2 separate regions of the Homo sapiens genome follow, and region 2 is linked to region 1. Evidence: promoter capture Hi-C in 16 types of primary human blood cells and fetal thymus (Javierre and others, 2016). All regions are on one chromosome and are shown on one strand. The core of a region is centred on a gene start or on the middle of the fragment in contact, and the rest is flanking DNA. Distances in the headings are between cores, read along the strand shown.

Region 1 (3,257 bases), core at 611-3,110:
GTTTTGGTGTGACGGTCGACCCTCCTAAACACGGGCTTTCCTCAGGCTGGTTCAAGATGGGAAAGGACTTTCTTCTGTTTTCTCCCAAAGTGCAACCACAGTGGAAAGCCCACAGTGGGCTTAGCCTGCCTAAGCCCTTCCATTCCCATTCTATTCTTTGATTGTACTAGGAATTCCAGGAAAAGTGCCTTCCTTCCCTGGTGACCTTTTCCTATTTCTAGCCTCCTCCACGGGTGCTGCTATTTTGAGAGCTCCGGCTCTTGTTTAGCTTTTATTTCAATTCTATCCTCAGTCCAGGTATGTATGTGAGGTTGTTTCCCTCTTCAGCCATGGCTATAATACTGTAAAATGCTAGTTTTTATTTTTTAAGTAGTGCTTCTTAAATGGTTTGCATGAGAGCCACTTGGAGTGCATGTTGAAAATTGATCTATTTGGGGTCCACCCCAAACCTAACAACCCAATTTGGGGATGGGGTTCAGGTATCGGCATTTTTAAAAAGTCAGCCACCCTTCCCAGGTGATTCTGTAAGTTGGTCCCTCAACCGTACTTAGAGAAATAGTGTTTTAAAGCAGTGGTCCACAAAGTATTCTGCTCATGTGACCCCCAAAAGTATTTTGAAAAATCATGTGTCCCCTCACCCATCTAAGTTGACATCTAAAATTTTTCATGGGAAGTTAAATACTTGACAAAGTATGTGTTTGCTGGTGTCATATAAATATTGGTATTTTAAAATAAAAACTGTTACATCACTATTTTAAACATATCCGGTACAATTTAAATATCACAACAATTTGACACCCTTTATTCATTTATAAAAATAAACGAGCTAGTTCTTTAGTAGTTGAACATTTTAAATTGGCTTTTCTTCTTCTATATTTTCATACCACTTTCAGCCAAGAATCCTATCGTAATGTAATCTACTGTGCTTGGCATCTTTTAATCATTCACCCATTATCTTCTTGTCAACAAAAAATACAAATGGAGGTAAGTTTTCTTAGTTCTTGCCTTAAGTGTTATCTCAGTCCAGAATAAATGTCATCGTAATTATTGTTATATAATGAAAATGATATTAATGTAATTCTTTGATGACTGTTTTATTAGAACGTTCTTTATCCTAATTAGTTCATTTATCCAAGAATACATGAATGTTATTTACAGCTGAGATGGGGTTCGACCTTAGTTGTATTCCTTGTTTCATTTCTTTATAGATGTAAGCACATAAATTCTATGGGAATAGAAAGAAAAAAAATTGGTTACCAATAGGGGTGTATTGGGAACACAGAAAAGAGGGAACAGGAGTGGAAGTGAAGTTTTCTATATACCTTTTTATATAGTTTTTATTTCTAAATCATGTGAATTCAGATAATTAAAATTATGCATAATTTTATATTATATATGTTTCTATATAATAGCAATTATATGGATATATTATATCTATATAATTATATATGGATATATTATATCTATATAATTATATATGGATATATTATATCTATATAATTATATATAGATATATATAAGCATAGATAGATAGATAGATAGATAGATAGATAGATAGATAGATAGATAGATGCTTCCTAGCTTGGCCATGAAATTTCTAGTACAATTTGAGATTAACTTGAATCTTTTTACTTTTGAGAATGGCTATTCTCAGTTTATTAAAGCTTGATCTAGGGTTTTCAAATTGTGCCCTTGTGAAATAAAGAAAATCCCCAGGGACCACAAATGCTTGCTTTCTTTATATTTTTCTTTGAAGAAAGGAGCTGAGTTTAAGAAGGCTAGAGGAAGTCCAGTTAGATTTGATATTGACCAAACAGGAGACTGCCCAGATGCTATTGATCCCCTGCACTTGGCAGCACAAATGCCCTTGGGTGTGCATTACTTCAAGCAAACGGAAGTGTGCCCCGCTGACAGTGGGAATGCCTGGCTGGGGGTGGGGGGGCCCGAGTGCACCACATCCAGCTGGGAGTGAAATTCCTGGAGAAAGCACCCACAGCACTCTGAGCCTGCTTGCAGCCCAACGGCCTCGCTGAGAATGCTACATTTAAAAGTGCAGTTTTTGGATGATTCCCAGAAGATTTTTGTGGTTGATGTAAGTGGAAATCACATTGCTATTATTCCTTTATTATTCATTCAATAATTGTCATTTGTGAACAGCCCATTAGAGAGCAATGTTATGTCTTCTTTAGGACTGAATGAAGGAGGACTGTGATTTTTAGCTTTGGAAAAATAATCTGTATTTAACATCACAATGTAGTTCATATTTTTCCATTAACCTTTCTCTTAGAACAAGTTGTCTTTTCTCAAGGGACAACAATAGCAAATTTTAAAGACAGGATAACTATTTGCAAAAAGTAAAGCAGCAATAAACTAGTTCTTTTACCCAATAAGGTATTGTTGTTCATTGAAATTATGTCTGTGGGTCTCACCCCATGAGCATTTGTGGGGAGAAAACTGTTGTTCTGAGGGAAAGGAGTGGGGGAAGCTATCCTCCTTTTCTGAAGAAAACCTATGGGTTATAAGGGGTAGAATTATGTAGTTGTAATGAGAACTTCAGGAAGGAATGACAAGTATGAGAGAGAAAAATAGGATAAGAGACTATTTAGTTTGATTTAGTACTTATAGTTCAGAGTTCTTAATAAATTCCTAGCTACAAGATGATTGCATACAATTATACCTCATCTCTTCAAGAAAGAACAAATGTATTAAGCACATCATTTGGTGCTCATGTTCCAACATCTTAAGATATGTACATTTTGATGTCAGGATTTATGTATGAGCATTTTGAAAAGTTCTACATTTTTATTGGAACCAAAAATGCTATTTGCTCTGATATTTACATTAGCCACTAACAAGAGACAAATAGTTTATTTTCTCTGAAATTCATACAAAATGTTGGTTTTTTTCTTTTATACATAAACTGACAACTGCTGTGGCTCAGCCATGATGTTGTGTGTGTGGGTAGCCCATTTTTCCAATGAGTATTTTATTTTTATTTGAATCATGTGCTTTGTGAGTGATGACTTCATGTCTTCATCTGCTGTTTTGCTGTCTCTTCCTTTCAGTTTTATGCGCAAAAGGCATTTCTAGTTCCACGGACCTGAATGATTTGTTTTTGTAGCAAATAGCTTCCATTAGAGGTATGAGGCATTTCCTATTCTTTCTTGGAACTATATTTAAGGGGTGGAAAATATCTTTTGAGTAGTTTATCCATTTGCAGACTGGTGGTGTATGCTCACAGTGCTGCAGTACCTGAA
Region 2 (3,693 bases), core at 1,184-3,683, 480 kb before region 1:
TGTATTATGAGTGTTTCCTGGTTGTCATCTGGCAGTAGCTCTCCGAGGGATGATGTGAGGGTCTGGGGGGAGGAACAAGAGAGATGACTGGAAAATCATGTTTTTCTTACCTTCAGCCTCCTTTGTTGCCTTAACTAATTGAAGAATGTTTTTCTCTTGACTTTTTGTGTCCTGTCTCACTTTAGGGCTTTCTAAGTCACTTAACACACAATCATGTACTTTTTAGTACTTGTCATCAGAGTTTTGTGATCTGGCTAGATTGGCCTTTGGTATAAAGCATTCCAATTTGCTTTCTGGGGCTCTGGGGAATTCTTGCTTCAGCCAACTCTATCTCTTATTCTCCCTCCTCTTCTTTCTTCCCCTGGACTAATAATGACAAATCCATTCCTGGACCTGTAGAATTGCCCCCACACTTCCCTTATGACCACCTGGAAACTTCTATCCGGGTTTTCGGCTTGTTGAAAGCATTTGCCTTCCTATTCTGCATTTTCTTGAATGCTTGTGATTTCTGAGTGACCTGTATGTTCTTGCACCATGGTAACATTCCATCAAGATTCTGTCCACATTCAACCCCTTGACTATTTACCCTCACAGAAAAAAAATGCCATGACGAATGCCATCCATTTTAGCTGAGTATTTTACCTTTTGCTGAGTTGTTGCCTTAAACATATTCCTAAGGCATATTTGGCAATTTGTGGCCTGGTGTACTTTTTTCCAACAGGCCTATGGATTGCTAGTCACATAACACCGTCAGATCCTGACCTGCAGTTATATTTGTAAGTGACTTTTCAGCTTTCTCCACTGGCTCCCCTTATCTGTACACTTATAAAGAACTCCTTCTCTGAGATCCCCATCATTTACTTACTCTCTCATCTTCACGCTCTTTGACCTCCTTTTTGTCTTATTCTAGAAGGTGCTACGTGTCAAAGATTAGTGTCTTATCTCCCTTCTTCCCTTCATTCCTATATTCTTCCAAATCTGTTTTCGTTTTGCTGTTAGAGGTAGAGGATAAAATAGTTACCATTTATCATGTATTTTCTTATCTCTGGGTTTAAAAATCTTCATTCCTTTATTTTCCTGTAATTAACAGGCATGTTTTCTCTTCCACCCACTGAAGTTTTGATGAAAATATTAAATTGTATCAGACTTAGGTCAGTTCCCTGAGAAACAATATGCACTGTGATTCCCTATCTCTGGTTCTTACTGAGCTATCAAAACCCAGCTGGTCACTATCATCCACTAGTGCCACTTGTATGTGGTGTGAACAATATTTTTCAAGCTAGTTAATGAGTAGGTCACGGCTAGGAGCAGAATCAAAAGCCTTTCCAAGGTTAATACATATTACGTTGTTTGCTGCCCCAAATCCATTAGGCTTGTCATCTGTTACCCAACAAAAATTAGATTGGGTCAGCATGACTATTTTCTTCATAATGTAGTGCTGATTGTTACTCAGTACTCTGTGCTATTCTTATCGTTCTTTTTATTTTCATTGAGGAATTTTAAAAACATATTATCCTGTGAGTAAAATTGGGTTATTCAATCTTTCATCTCTATGTTGACTCTCTATCCTTTCTGAAAAGGTAGATTTTTTTTAGTTGGCTTTTTCTAATCTCCAGGAACTCCGGTTTCCAAGAATTTCCAAAGATGAGACATCTCTGTAATTCTTCAAAGGATCAAGATGCATTCTTTGCACACTTTAGGGTGAAAGTCCTGCAAGACAGTTTGGAATGTTCAGTATCAATTGGCATTGCTCAATATGAATTCTGTGCATATGGAGAGTTAGGCAGCTCATGGCTGCCTGCTGTGATGGCTAGTGTGTGTGTGTGTGTGTGTCTGTGTGTGTGTATGTACATTAAAATTTCCTTTTACTTTAGTGTCATGGTTTGAACTACCTTCCCACACAGTCCAACACAAAGACCCACATTATTTCCCCTTCCTTCCATGCAATAAAGAATACTTTCCCATACATCTGTTCCTAGTAGGAACTTATTCCTTGCTTTGGCTCTCCCCATTTTCTTTTTAAATGTAGCTGTCTCAAATCTATTGTGGGCAAGAGAAAGGTATTAATAAATAAACCCACTTTCTGAATGTTCACCAGGTAGATCTGTCACAATCCACTTATGCCAAGGACTGCAATTGTTTGCTCCTGGAAGTAGTGCTGGGGGAGTAGGCTAATGCCTGAGAGAGCCCCCTTCTAATCCTACAGTGAGGTGTGGCACCCAGAGTTTAAATGAGTAACCTGCAGTTTCATAAACCCCATGCTCTTTCTCTACATAGTGCAATGAGTCTTTTGAAATAAATATATAAAAGAAACCTGTTCTCTGACCTTTGCTGTTTAGATGCCTCCCTTGCCTGTGTCATGACTCTGTGTTAATTAATGTAAGTAAAATGTAAACATTAGAGAAGTCATTTTGTGGATGCAGACCTACCAAACCCATCCTCACATTTTCACATACAAAAGGAAAACTTCTTGCTGGAAATTTTCTCTAATCATTTTTGCTTTCTATCAGAATTAGAGGGAAGACATTGCAATACTATTACAAGCAATAATAACTAACTTTTATTGAGTGCAAGTTTCAGGCTTGGTGCTAAGCTGTTTTGTGGAATTAACTTCTATTTTATACCTGGCATAAATGGAAGTTCAGAGAGTTTAAGTGACTTGCCCATAATCAGATGGATAAAGAGTGGCAGAGTTGGCCACTGTTTTGTAGGGCTAGAGTTGGGCAGTCCTAGGGTCTCACATAAGTTTTTTGGACATTTTATTGTCCATGAAGTCAGAATCCATCTTATAATTCATGGCATTCTAGATACTTTTAAACAGAATTTTAAATAAACTGTTTTCCTTTCCTTTCCTTTCCCTTTCCCTTTCTTTCCTTTCCTTTCCCTTTCTTTCTCTTTTCTTTCTTTCTTTCTTTCTTTCTTTCTTTCTTTCTTTCTTTCTTTCCTTCTTTCTCTTTCTTTCTCTTTCTTTCTTTCTTTCTTCTCTTTCTTTCTTTCTTTCTTTCTTTCCTTCTTTCTTTCTTTTTTTTCTTTTCTTTTCTTTTTCTTTTTTTTTTCGGAGTTTCACTCTTGTTGTCCAGGCTGGAGTACAGTGGTGCCATCTTGGTTCACAGAAACCTCCACCTCCCGGGTTCATGAGATTCTCCTGCCTCAGCCTCCCGAGTAACTGGGATTACAGGCACCCGCCACCATGCCTGGCTAATTTTGTATTTTTAGTAGAGACCGGTTTTCACCATGTTGGTCAGGCTTGTCTTGAACTCCTGACCTCAGGTGATCCACCTGCCTCAGCCTCCCAAAGTGCCAGGATTACAGGTGTGAGCCACTGCACCCAGCCCACAGTATTATTTCTATTATAAAAGAAATATAGATTCGTATTTTAAAAGTTGGTAGAAAATTTATACCAAGTCTCACCATTTTGTTATATTTCCTTCCAGTCTTTCTTTTATGCATAATTTTTCTTATGATTTGTTTGTTTTACATGATCATAAGAATACATGTAACTTTGTGAAGTTTCACAATTTTATCTTTTAAAATTATATCTTAGCATAAACATTTTCCCTGCTATGTAATTTTTTAAAGCCTACATAGTAATCAATTGATCGAGTATATAGTTTAGCCTTTTCCAAGTGATTTAGCATTTAGCCTGTTTTTGTTTTCATTGTTATAAATATCACTGTATTTAAACTTTTTATG

The links. The method cuts DNA at HindIII sites, captures the fragments that hold promoters and counts their contacts. A CHiCAGO score of 5 or more calls a contact.
Region 2: a contact is called between a fragment that was not itself captured here and the fragment with the promoter of FRMD7 in region 1, in 6 of 17 cell types (non-activated CD4 T cells, naive CD4 T cells, naive B cells and 3 more). The highest score is 7.3, in non-activated CD4 T cells.

Annotation. Positions count from the first base shown.
Region 1 is chrX:132,126,623-132,129,879 of GRCh38, reverse strand. FRMD7 (FERM domain containing 7) reads left to right here and starts at 1,860. Exons shown (of 12, transcript NM_194277.3): 1 at 1,860-2,092. The coding sequence starts at 2,036. The HindIII fragment of the contact is 2,038 bases long and covers 1,667-3,257 here.
Region 2 is chrX:132,607,641-132,611,333 of GRCh38, reverse strand. No RefSeq gene overlaps it. Among named protein-coding and RNA genes, the nearest start is that of HS6ST2-AS1, 58 kb to the left of the region's middle. The HindIII fragment of the contact is 5,115 bases long and covers 1-3,693 here.